Linked DNA regions of Homo sapiens: region 1 is linked to region 2. The links are contacts of gene promoters, found by promoter capture Hi-C in human tissues and cell types (Jung and others, 2019). All regions are on one chromosome and are shown on one strand. Each heading gives the region's core, a stretch centred on a gene start or on the middle of the fragment in contact. The rest is flanking DNA. Distances are from core to core; before and after follow the strand shown. Region 1 overlaps ARHGAP31 (Rho GTPase activating protein 31). Region 2 holds the start of B4GALT4 (beta-1,4-galactosyltransferase 4).

Region 1 (6,250 bases), core at 3,146-5,645, 150 kb before region 2:
TTCAGTGGTGCAAACAAGGCTTACTGCAGTCTTGACCTCTTGGGCTCAAGCAATCCTCCTGCCTCGGCCTCCCGAGTAGCTGGGACTACAGGCACATGCCACCACACCCGGCTGATATTTTTATATTTTGTAAAGACTGGGTTTCACCATGTTGCCCAGGCTGGTCTCAAACTCCTGGGCTCAAACGATCCTCCCACCTTAGCCTCCCAAAGTGCTGGGATTACAGGTGTGAGTCATCATACCTGGACCCAGGATGTTTTTATGATCCATCTGAGATAGCTTTGCAGTGCTTGGTGGTTTCCTCTGGACTTGGCCCACATTTTGTCAAGCTTTTATCCTTGGGTAATATTTTATAGGGTAGCGTACCTTTGGGTATGGTGCACCCGAGATGTGGTTGAAAGCACAGAGAAAATGCATTTGGTAGTCTTTCCAAGGTATTCTTCCTGATCTCTGGAGGATCAGGGAGAAATGAGACTTATTCTCCAGGGACTTAGGGAAAGGAGCAGTGGGGCTGAGTCTCAAGAAAACACGATCCATATATTTTCCAGCACACAGATGGGTTTCTCACCAGGTGAGTTCCAGATATGCCATTCCTATAGCATGCAGCATGACTGGCATCTCCTAGTTGTGCAAGGTGGCAGCCTGTGCAAGAGGTGCCTGTTTTCATACCTGTTTTCACTGACCAAAGAGTGGGAATGACACCTTCAATGGAAAGGTTGCCTTTCAGCCCCTCCACCTACAATCTGCTTAGAATTTAGGACTCCTGTTCAATCCCCGCTTCTTTCTACTATGGGATATGAGTGACGGCGGGGGGGAGGGGGGGGTAGAGACCCAGGTGGCAACAGAAGAAGTGACAGGGAGAAATGAGGAAAGAAAATATTCTACCAATGAAAACAATGCTTGATTTATTTTGGAGATGAGGGAAGGCTCTGACAGACTCTGACAAGGATGCCAGGTTTGCATGTCCCCAACTGCTGCTCACCCAGAGCTATCAGCCTAGTGACACCATTTGTCAACCCTATGCTTTTTGTATCGTCACGTGGGGATGGAGGGTCGGGGAGGGGGTCGAAGTTTTGTTTTTAGTAAACTTCCTTTTGTAAACACCAAGCCTGATTTGTCTACACTAAAAAGACAGGAATTTCAGTCATGACTTGTGATGTGACCCCTATAATACTCTCCCAAAATGGTGCTTGATCAATGGGAGATCAGGGGTCTTGTTAACTTTGGGGCAGTGCATGCATAAAGGCATCAACTGCTGGTGAGAGAGTTGTAGAGACAGCTCCCTTCTCTTCTGGAATGTTTCCTTAAACCCCAACCCAGACGGTACCTCCAACCCACACTGCCATCTTGGTCCTGAGACTGTATACCTCTCCTCCTCTTTCCTCTTCAACCACACATCTCCTAGAATTTTTTAAAAGAGTGCCACTTACTTGTTGTCTGGTAACTCAAGGACAGTGTGGAAGAGGGTGCCCATGGGAGGGACAATCTCAGGCAGGCTGTTCTCCCTCCTTTCCTTGCGAGCAGGATGGTTAGTGGCCAGGCTGCGGGCTTGAGCTTCCTCAAGGCTCACCAGCTTCATGGGCAGGGAGAGGGCTGGCAAGGTCAGGCTCTTCATGATGGGCCGGTTTTCTGTAAAGGCAATGGAAGAGCTCAGTGTTGGAGGAGGCCTGCCCATCACATCCATCCAGATTCCCCATCCACAGTCCCTCCATTCTTGATCCTATGATGGGGGCTGAGTGCCACCCTGGCTTCTCTTGGGCATGGTGGGGCCTGGGGCTGAGGCTGCACACCGGAAACTGATGACTGTCCTGGCCAGACCTGCCAGAGGACAAACAGGGGCTTCAGGAGGTAGCTGCACCTTCCATACTTTTCAGAGAGGGACCACTCACTCATCCATTCATTCATTCCTATAACAAACATTTATTGAACACTCACTGTGAGCCAGAGTGACAACAATGAGTCTTTACTCCTGAAAACTCTGCCCAGTGCTTCGGCCAGATGGGAATATGTCTGTCCAGCCACAGAGATAGCCTAACTGCCAGAGTAGGGCAGGAGGCTGCCTCTCCTCCCCACAGCTGGACAGCACATGCTCCAAGGCCATTTCAAGTTAGAACCTCTACTTTTCAGATCATCTAGGCTTATATCCCTGCCACAGGAAGATATTTTACAGCCTATACTATTTCCTGTGGTTTTTTTACTCACTACCCAGTTGTCTCCTAGTGTATGTAGCTGATCCTTTCCTATTCTATGGCATTTTTTTTTTTAAAGAATGGAAGTGATGATGACAATCGCTGATGCACAGGATTATCTCTTTTCTCCAAGTCAGTGGTTCTCACCTTGAGGTGATTTTGTGTACCACTCCCCTCCACACCCAGGGACATCTGGCAATGTCTGGAGATATTTTTGATGGTCATCAATGTGTGTGGCAGTGCTACTGGTGTCTAGTAGGCAAAGGCCAGGGATGCTGTTAAGCGTCCTGCAATGCACAGAGCAGTGCCTCACAATAAGAATCATCCAGCACTCAATATCAATAGTGCTGAGGTTGTGAAGCTGATCTAAGTTAAAAAATAGTCTAAGTTTGCTTCTATTTAGTTTTTGGTGACCTTGCCAGTTTTCTATGACTTCTGAAATAGTAAAAAGACTCAAGGATAATTTAGACCAATTGAAATTACTTTTGGTGGAGGACTCACTGTATTTTCAGAAAGCAGATTGATGGCACTATTTCTCTTTGCAGAGCATGACCCTCTGTGGGTGGGAAGAAGTAAAACCATTGAAAAAGGGCCTCACAGAAAATGAAGACAACTGTTATGTGACAATGGGGTGTTTCTGGGGAGGACTAGCATGGATGGCACTAATTCAGTAGGACTACTGTTAAATATAGCCTGGGATCCTGAAAACTTTTCAGTAAACTTTCTGACTTTAACACAGTCTTTTGACCCGATCCAAAGAGGGTTAAAAATATTTAAATTTAATCTACTTTGAATATTTGTTCAAAGACTCTCACATATTCTAGATTATTTGTGATTATGTATTTGCTTAAAAATACATAAAAATAAATACATACATTAACTCACTCTGGGAGCAACTGCAACAATGGGAAGAACATAAACTGCAGGGTCAGAAGACCAAGTTTAGTGCCCACCTCTCCTGTCAGCTCCAGGCTCCTAGGACTAAGGCCCGCTTAGTGTCTCTGATTAGATGGTTTTTTTTGTTTGTTTGTTAGTTGGTTAAGTTTTTGTTTTTTTGTTTTTTTTAAACGGAGTCTCGCTCTGTCGCCCAGGCTGGACTGCAGTGGTGCAATCTCGGCTCACTGCAACCTCCGACTCCTGGGTTCAAGTGATTCTCCTGCCTCAGCCTCCTGAGTAGCTGGGACTACAGGCACCCACCGCCATGCCAAGCTAATTTTTTGTATTTTCTAAAATAGTAATGGGGTTTCTCCATGTTGGCCAGACTGGTCTCGAACTCCTGACCTCAAGTGGTTTGCCCGCCTCAGCCTCCCAAAATGCTGGGATTGCAGGTGTGAGCCACCGCGCCTGGCCCCTGCTTAGGCATCTCTAACTTTACATTTTGTAACAGAGCTTGCGATCTGTGCTCCTCTGCTCTACTGTGGTACCTCCTCTCATCTTCTTTGTGTCAGTAGGTGGCACCACGGACCACCCAGTGCCCAAGCTAAAGCCTGGGGTTGTTATTTCTTATTTATTCTTTTCCTTAATGCATCTCTCCTTCCATAGACAGCCTATAAGCAAGGCTCGTAACTCTACCTCCAAAATACATCCGGAACCCAGCCACTTTCCTCCTTCCCACTGCTAAGATGCTGGTAGAGGCTGCCATGATTTCCCATCTGCTTTTGCCATAGCTTCTTAACTGGTCTCCCCGCTTCCAGCCTCTCAGCCTCTCCTCCACACAGGAGCTGGAAGGCTTAGATCCTGCACTGGCCTGCTCAAAACCCTCCAATGCTTTCCCAAGGCACTGAGAACAAACCCGTCTCTTCGCATGACCTAAAAGGATATTTCATCTGCTTCCCCTTTCCTGTTTGCCCACTGGCCCAGTAGTCTACAAAAATATAGCAAACATTTTAAAATGTGTACATATATATATATATATAAAAATTATACATATACATATTATATGTATACATATATGCCACTGTGTGTCATGCGTAATAGCAAATATATAAAAAAAATAGAAATTACACAGTATAAGACAAAAATAAATGGAAAACAGAAATTTGAACAGTTTCTCCCAACACCCATAACTCATTACTTTGGTCTTTGGTACCCACCAGAGTGGGGCACCCCACTTTGAAGGCCACATTGGTTCCAGCCACATTGGCCAATGTTCTGCAACACTTCAAGCTTTCTGCCTCAGAGCTTTTACAACCTCTGTTCTCTGTCTTTGGAACATTTGCTCATAGATCCTCACATGCCTGGTTCCCCATGTCATTCAGGTCTCACTTCAAAGATCACTTCTCTAGAAACCTTGACCACTCTGTCCCAAAATTATACCCCCAAGTCACTGACTATTGCCTTACTCTGCTATGTTTTCTTCTTGGTATTTATTGTCTTTGAAGTGATAATATATTTATTTGTAAACTTATATATCCTTGTCTTCCCAACCAGACCATAGTTCTATGCCACGGAGTTTCTGTCATTTTGGGCACTGATGTGTCTCCAGTGTCTAGAACAGCACCTAGTTCATAGGAGATATTCAATACACATTTATTTTTTAGTGAATATTAGAGATATCACAATCTCTTTGGCCTCAGTGTTCTCATCTATCAAATAAAAGTATTGGATTCAATGCCTTCTGCTATGCTGTGAATGTTTCTGTCCCCTCAAAATTCATATGTTAAAATAGAATCCTCAAAGCTGTGGGCGGCAAGCCACCCAGGCACCGAGGCAAGAGACAGAGGACACGAGCTGTTCCAGTATAATAAAATATAAAACAAGAATAGTTATACCAGATATAGATCTTAGATATGATTATATATGAATATCATTAATCATTAGTTTGTAGCAATTACTTTTTATTCCAATATTATAATAATCCTCGCTCTATAATCATAGCCTAGGAAAAACCAGGCCATATAGAGATAGGAGCTGAGGGGACATAGTGAGGTGTGACCAGAAGACAAGAGTGCGAGCCTTCTGTTATGCCCGGACAGGGCCAGCAGAAGGGCTCCTTGGTCTAGCGGTGAAGCCAGCGTCTGGGAAGACGCCCGTTACCAGGCGGACTGTGGTCCAGCGGTAGCAAAAGGTGTCAAGGAACAACACCCACTACTTAGCAGACCGGGAAAGGGGGGTCTCCCTTTCCCCGGGGGAGTTTAGAGAAGACCCTGCTCCTCCACCTCCTGTGGAGGGCCTGACATCAGTCAGGCTCGCCCGCAGTTATCTGGAGGCCTAACCATCTCCCTGTGATGCTGTGCTTCAGTGGTCACACTCCTAGTCTGCCTTCATGTTCCATCCTGTACACCTGGCTCTGCCTTCTAGATAGCAGTAGTAAATTAGTGAAAATACTAATAGTCCCTGATATGCAGAAATAATGGCATAAGCTGTCTCTCTGTCTCCTCTCCTTCTCTGTCTCAGCTGCCAGGCAGGGAAGGGCCCCCTGTCCAGTGGACACGTGACCCACGTGACCTTACCTATCGTTGGAGGTGACTCACATTCTTTACCCTGCTCCTTCTGCCTTGTATCCAATAAATAACAGCGCAGCCCGACATTTGGGGCCACTACTGGTCTCCGCACATTGGTGGTAGTGGTCCCCCGGGCCCAACTGTCTTTTCTCTTATCCCTTTGTCTTGTGTCTTTATTTCTACACTCTCTCGTCGCCGCACACAGGGAGAGACCCACTGACCCTGTAGGGCTGGTCCCTACAAAAGCAATAGAATTAAGAGGTGAGGTCTTTAGGAGGTGATTAGGTCATGAGGGTGGAGCCCTAATGAATGGGATTAGTAATCTTATAAAAGAGGCCCAAGGGAGCTTGTTTCACCTTTCCCCATGTGAGAACACAGTGAGAAGGTGCTGACTGTGGTGTATGGGCCCTCACCAGACACTGAATCTACCGGCCCTTGGATCTTGAAATTCCCAGCCTCCAGAAGTGAGAGAAATAGGTTTATTGCTTATAAGCTAACCAGTTCATGGTATTTTTTTTATAGCAGCCCAAATGGACTAAGAAAACTTCTAAAATCTTTTCAGTTTGAAGCAGAACTCTGTCCAAATCTAAAATTCCAGAGAATAGGGCTTATTCCATT
Region 2 (7,106 bases), core at 4,607-7,106:
TCATCTACAGGAATGTTGATGTTTCTTGCCTCTTGTGCAGGCTTGAATCTGGGGGGGTGCTTCTCCTGTGGGGCTTGTGCTTACCCTGGATTGTTCCAGCAAGGCTGTCTATAGCTGCCTCTATGCTGCATTCCTGTGGAAGAAGCTTCAGCTGTGTCTGCAGTGTAGTGCCAGGGGGAACAAGGATGCCTTCTCTAGTGCCCTTCATAATCACACAGGCCACCTGCCTGTTGGGGTAGAGGTGCAGACTTTCTCTACTGTACCCAGCACTGCAATTGTGTCTCTGCTGTGAGAAACTTCCCACCAGTAGAAAGATCTGGAACTCACGGCCTGGTGTTTGGATTCTTTTGTCCCATGGGGTGACCCCTTGATGTGGTGCTCTCCCTCTTCCCCTAGGAATGGGGCTTCCTGAGAGCCAGACTGAAGTGATTGTTATTCCTCTTCTGGGTCTAGCCACCCAGCTAGGCTCTGAGCTGGTGCTGGGGAATGTCTGCAAAGAGTCCTGTGATGTGATCTGTCTTCAGGTTTCCCAGCATGGATACCAACACTTGTTCTGATGGAGGTGGCAGGGGAGTGATGTAGTCTGTGAGATTTCTTGGTTGTAGATAGACTCAGTGTGCTGGCTTTCTTGAATGCTGGTTATGCTAGCGGTGAAGTTGTCATGTGGACAGACTCAGGACCTTTAGTTAGCCAGGGTGTTGCAGTGAGTGGTATTAGCTGTTGTTTTCTCCTTCCTGGAAGAAGCGTTATTCTGCCAAGAGTTGCTGTAATGGCCTGAGTTGGCTGGCTTCCAGCCAGGAGGGGACACTTGCAAGAGAGCACCAGCTGTGGTAGTAGCAGTGACATTTGAGCTTGGCCTAAGTTGTCTAGGGGAAGTATTCTGGTTTCCCAGGCAATGGGCAGGGCCATAAGGCTCTCAAGAGTTTATGTCTTTTGTGTTAAGCTACAAGGCAGGTAGATAAATACCATCAGGTCGGGGCAGGGTTGGGCGGGCCTGAGTTCAGATTCTCCCTGGGCAAGGCCTGCCATGGCCTGCTGGGGGATAGGAGGGGTGGATCTCAGGCCAATGGGGTTATGTTCTAGAGGAGAGTATGGCTGCTTCTGCTGTGCAGTAGAGTTTGCAAGGGGAGTGGGGATTAGCTCATAGTGAAAGTCCTCATCCAGCTCCCACAGAGTTGGTGAGGCCAGTCTTGCTCCCATGGTGCCCCACTAACAGCACTGAGTTTAGATCCAGGCAGCTGGTGTGTAGAACTCAGACCTGCCCTGGGCCATGAGCTTCCCTGCTGAGGAAGAAAGCATGGCTTTCAGGTCACACCCCTCCCCATCTGCCTGCAATGCTGGGTGCCCAGCTTCTGCCCTTGTATCTGCATTAGTTTCCATTTGTCCGCCCACCCCTGGATTCTGTTCAAGGGTGCTCATGCCCACTTGAAATTACCACAAAACTCAGTTGGTAGCTTATTTCACTCTGTGACTCCTTCCTAAGTTTGGTGGCTGCCTTCCCTGAGGGCCCCTGTTAGATATGGTCAGGGATGGCTTCCCTGGGCTCAAGCTGGAGACTGAGAATGCCTCCAAGGCTCTTCTTGCTGCTGCTTCTACTTTTGTATTTTGTGCTGCTCCCTAAGTCCATTCCAGCTCTAGGTAAGGCTAAAGCCTTCTCCCATCATCTGGATTTTCAGATTCCACAGTAGGAATGTGTGTTCAGAGGCAGGCTCTCCCCTTTTCCTACACTGAGAATTCAGTTTTTTGCCTGTCTCACAGACTTTGCTGTGGTGTGCTCCTTTCATAGGATCTGCGAATTCTTTTGATTTCCTGGTAACTTCCTGCAGTGGTTCTTGGAATAAAAGTTCACAGTGTTAATTGCTACACACTGTTCTGTCCTTCCAAGTGGGAGAGGCACACTAGCACTGCCTACTACCTGCCATCTTAGAACAGATAGACAAACCAAAACATATTTTTTTTATTTTTAATTTTTTACTATACTTTGTTTTAGGGTACATGTGCACAACGTGCAGGTTAGTTACATATGCATACATGTGCCATGTTGGTGTGCTGCACCCATTAACTTGTTATTTAACATTAGGTAACCAAAACATATTTAAAAGGATGTAAATTTATTGCTAAGTGTGGACTCATGGAGGCCCCATATGGCCACCTGGTTCTTCCTGAGTCCTTAAATCTTCCATTATTAAAAACTCTGTACTCCATTACTCATCATGGGGTAGACAAAAAACTAGTTCTGGGAAGACCTATATCCTTAATAATAGACTCTCATGTATCTCCTGCTCTTATAAGCTTTGCTGTAACTAAATACTGCAAAGCTTTAATCCATTATATGAAAGTGTGTTTTCCCCAGGTAAAAGCCTTTTGTGATACACTGAGTACAACCAACCTTTCACAATCTAGAACTCAGAGATTGAGTCTTCTGGAAATAACATCCCATCTGAGAAAAACTGCTCTTGTATCCCATTAGAAGAGATTATATCATGTACTTCTCTCACCACCCACAGTAAAACTTCAGGGCCTCGAGTTTTGGTCCATACCTTGTAACTCAAAAGAGCCCCTTCAAACTCTTGGAATTATACACCTGTTGGAGATCTTAAGGTAGGGAAGTTTCTCCCCAGAAGCAGATGGCATCCTAGACATGGACAGCTTTCTCAAGATCATGGATCAAGACTTCTCTGCTATCATGACTATCTTATCTTTTTTTCTATTTTTTCCATATTTCCTGCTGGGAAATCCATGGGACCATAATTTATAGATGGCTTTAGCTAAGGCTCATGCTCTAACAAGAAAAACTAGAGCAACTGTTGGGTTTCTGGACTGATGCCAAAAAAAAAACCCCTAGGAAACAATTTTATTAATGCCAATGCCTCTCTGTGAAATGAAAGCCACCCTAAAACCTCAAAAGCAGATTGGAAAGCTATCTTTAATTTTGTAGATATCACTGCTACTTGCTTTCCTACACTTACTGAAAGCAATAACCCAACTTCTCCAATTAATAACCTACCAGCTACCAAATATAGAAAAGCTGAGTGATTCTTTTTTTTTTTTTTTTTTAGATTAACTTGCTTGGCTCCTTTATTATTCTCCTTTATTATTAAACTTCCTCAGCATAATGTGATTTGGGCAGACAGAGATGTTATCCTGTGGCTTATTGTTGGCCTACATTCTCTTTTTTTTTTTTAAATTTATTTTTTTTTTAGTATTTATTGATCATTCTTGGGTGTTTCTCGGAGAGGGGGATTTGGCAGGGTCATAGGACAATAGTGGAGGGAAGGTCAGCAGATAAACATGTGAACAAAGGTCTCTGGTTTTCCTAGGCAGAGGGCCCTGCCGCCTTCCGCAGTGTTTGTGTCCCTGGGTAGTTGAGATTAGGGAGTGGTGATGACTCTTAGCGAGCACGCTGCCTTCAAGCATCTGTTTAACAAAGCACATCTTGCACTGCCCTTAATCCATTTAACCCTTAGTGGACACAGCACATGTTTCAGAGAGCAGGGGGTTGGGGGTAAGGTTATAGATTAACAGCATCCCAAGGCAGAAGAATTTTTCCTAGTACAGAACAAAATGGAGTCTCCTATGTCAACTTCTTTCTACACAGACACAATAACAATCTGATCTCTCTTTCTTTTCCCCACATTTCCCCCTTTTCTATTGGACAAAACCGCCATCGTCATCATGGCCCGTTCTCAATGAGCTGTTGGGTACACCTCCCAGACAGGGTGGTGGCCGGGCAGAGGGGCTCCTCACTTCCCAGACGGGGCTGCCGGGCAGAGGGGCCCCCCACCTCCCAGACGGGGCGGCGGCCGGGCAGAGGGGCCCCCACCTCCCAGACGGGGCGGCGGCTGGGCAGAGGCGCCCCCCACCTCCCGGACGGGGCGGCTGGCCGGGCGGGGGCTGCCCCCCACTTGCCGGGCGGGGCGGCTGGCCAGGCGGGGGCTGCCCCCCCACCTCCCGGGCGGGGCGGCTGGCTGGGCGGCTGCCCCCCACCTCCCGGACCAGGCAGCTGCCCGGCGGAGGGGCTCCTCACTTCTCAGACAGGGCGGCCAGTCAGAGACGCTCCTCACCTCCCAGACGGGGTGGCGGCGGGGCAGAGACACTCCTCAGTTCCTAGACGGGTCGCCGCCGGGCAGAGGCATTCTTCACCTCTCAGACGGGGTGGTGGGGCAGAGGCGCTCCCCACATCCCAGATGATGGGCGGCCAGGCAGAGACGCTCCTCACTTCCTAGACGGGGTGGCGGCCGGGAAGAAGCGCTCCTCACTTTCCAGACTGGGCGGCTGGGCAGAGGGGCTCCCCACATCCCAGATGATGGGCGGCCAGGCAGAGACGCTCCTCACTTCCTATACGGCGTGGCAGCAGGGCAGAGGCTGCAATCTCGGCACTTTGGGAGGCCAAGGCAGGCGGCTGGGAGGTGGAGGTTGTAGCGATCCGAGATCAAGCCACTGCACTCCAGCCTGGGCAACATTGAGCACTGAGTGAGCGAGACTCCGTCTGCAATCCCGGCACCTCGGGAGGCCGAGGCTGGCAGACCACTCGCGGTCAGGAGCTGGAGACCAGCCCGGCCAACTCGGCGAAACCCCGTCTCCACCAAAAAATACGAAAACCAGTCAGGTGTGGCGGTGCGCGCCTGCAATCCCAGGCACTCGGCAGGCTGAGGCAGGGGAATCAGGCAGGGAGGCTGCCGTGAGCCGAGATGGCGGCAGTACAGTCCAGCCTCGGCTCGGCATCAGAGGGAGACCATGCAAAGGGGAGACGAGGACCGTGCAAAGGGGGGAGGGAGATGGGGAGGGAGACAGAGAGGGGGAGGGGGAGGGGAAAAGCTGAGTGATTCTTGCAAAAGGTATATATTATGCTTCCAGGCATCATATGCTCAAGACCTGGGGACTATGTGGGTATAAGTAACTGATTGTATAACGCCACTGGATGAAATCCAGTAATGTCCTTTTTCACTAAATGTGGTTATACACCCTTACAGCATGTTACAAAGGGAACACAAAAAAATAAGTTTCACACTGGACCTTGTTCAGGAGCAGTGTTGACCTATTTCACTGACCTATCCTCAACTGCCACTAGGTGGCCCTCTTTTCCAGCTTCCAAGGGCCTACATTGGGCCTATGCGGCCTCAGTATAGCCTCAGATTTCCTGCTATGAAGCTTAATGAGCCCAGCACTGGCTCTAGCTATGGTTTGTTCCTTTTTGGGTGGAGTGGATGTGTGGTTCTTGGAGAATCTACTACTTTCCCGTGAGTGCAGTGGGAGACTGCATTAGAGAATCTAGCTATCCTGACTGCCTAAACAGAGCCTACCATAATTTTTCACTCAAATCTTTAGTGTAAATATAATTGTCTTTGCTTTCTGTAATAATATCTTTGAAGAAATACGGATTTAAAAAAATCATTTAATATTCTCAGACCTGCAACATGGGAAAAATATTATTATTATTATTATCATTTTTGCAGTTGAGAGGGCTGAAATCTCGCAGGGTGATTAAGTTTATTAGCCTCTCTAAAGTCTCAGTTTCCCACTCTGTAAAATGGAAGGGTCCCTATCTCTTTCCTACTGCTTTGTGAGTATTTAAGGGGATGGAATTTGGGAAGCGCTCAGCACCCAGTCTACTATTGGCACAGGGTTTTAAAGCCACCCAGAGGCCGAGGCGTCAACCCTCCGTTTCCCTCCCGGTGCTCCTTCCAGCGCCCGGTGTGGTCGATTTGGCGGGGGTGGAGCGCCAGGCGCGTGCAGAGCCGGGCGGACCAGCCTCTCCGGCCAAGGCGGGAGGCGGAGCTCGTACTCAAGAGCCGCCTCCCGGGCGGCTGGGGCGGTCCCCGAGCTGCTTTCCGCGTTCTCCCCTCTCCGCGGGCAGTGCTAGCTCGCCGCGGCCGCCTCCGGGGTGAGTACGCTGGCTCCGCCGGCGCCCGGGAAATGCAGTTCCCTGGACACGGGCGCCGTGCGAGGGTAGCCGGGCGACGGCCGGGGTCAGTCCCAGGGCTGTAGCGGGGCGGGCGTGGGGATGACGTGGCGGCGTCCGTGGGGCAGTCCCGCCTCAGCCGGAGCGGTGGGCCGGGCCGGGGGCCTACGGAGGCCGAGCCTGGCGGGAGGCACCGGCTCAGGTGCTGGCGTTCCGCGCGGCGCCGCCTCTGCTGCGGGCCGGGGGAGCCAGACGAGGTGCTGCCGGGTAGGAAAAAATCCAGGGCTCATTCATACCCCAGGTCACGATTCCGGGGTCGCCCCCAGCACTTCTCCGCCGGGTGCATCAACCTGAAAAAGCCCCTTCTTCCTGGAAACCCTCCTTCTCCAGCGTTTCAACGGGGAAACTGATCAGCTGACACCAGCCCCAGTCCTGCGAGGGGCCGGCGACCTTTGACCTTTCTCCAAAGGGGTTGGTCACCTGGATTATAAAAGACTTCGGAGACAGCCATCCAGTGTTTGTTGATCTGTATCCCTTGATGTTCTGTCTTCCATTAGATAAGGGCTGTTAATTCTTGGTTTGAAAAAAAACAGACAAAGTCCAAAGGACTCTGCATCGAGGAGAGGCCTATGGGTTGGTAGCCTTAGGAGAGTAGTTATCAACAGTGGGTGGGTGTGCACACTGTTGCAAAGTGTTCCAGAGTGGGTGAGGGATGGGGACGTGGCGGTGGTGAGGGTACTGGTAGACCTCCTCAGCCGTTTGGTGATGAAAAGGAGGAAAAAGAAAATGGTAATCTGAGCGTGGAGGCGAGTTGTGGCTTTTTTTTTTTTTTTTAAATTTTTAAAGAAAGGAAAATAACACCTTTAAGATGCAAGAAAATCAAGGAGAGATCAGGATGAATAGGATTCAGGGTCCGGATTGAGAAACTGGGATTCAGAAGGGAGGGCTATTCCCGAGACCCAGGCGGGGAGTGCTGGAAGGTCTCTCTTGGGAGAGGAGATAATGCTTGATTGGATATAGTTCAGAAGTTTTTGGAATTTTGTCTTCTAGAGCAGGTTTGTTCTTTATGGAAATTGTAAACCCCATGAAATTGCAATAACTTTCGTCTACCTATAGCTTTGATCAGATTGAAAACATACGTTGTGAAAAAGTACTGACCTGGATTGAACTGTTTGACTACATAATCTAAGGGGAAGTGGATAGA

What was found. Contacts are between HindIII fragments. The study calls those that stand out against the background at their distance.
Region 1: a fragment that was not itself captured here is called in contact with the fragment with the promoter of B4GALT4 in region 2 in 1 of the 25 tissues and cell types used here (H1 embryonic stem cells).

What each region holds. Positions count from the first base shown.
Region 1 is chr3:119,386,164-119,392,413 of GRCh38, reverse strand. It overlaps ARHGAP31 (Rho GTPase activating protein 31), which reads right to left. Exons shown (of 12, transcript NM_020754.4): 7 at 1,431-1,629. Among named protein-coding and RNA genes, the nearest start is that of ARHGAP31-AS1, 67 kb to the right of the region's middle. The HindIII fragment of the contact is 4,105 bases long and covers 2,343-6,250 here.
Region 2 is chr3:119,239,628-119,246,733 of GRCh38, reverse strand. It overlaps B4GALT4 (beta-1,4-galactosyltransferase 4), which reads left to right and starts at 5,856. Exons shown (of 8, transcript NM_003778.4): 1 at 5,856-5,884. All of the region lies in intron 3 of B4GALT4-AS1 (B4GALT4 antisense RNA 1), which reads right to left. RefSeq lists silencers at 4,990-5,039, 5,690-6,169. The HindIII fragment of the contact is 14,454 bases long and covers 3,736-7,106 here.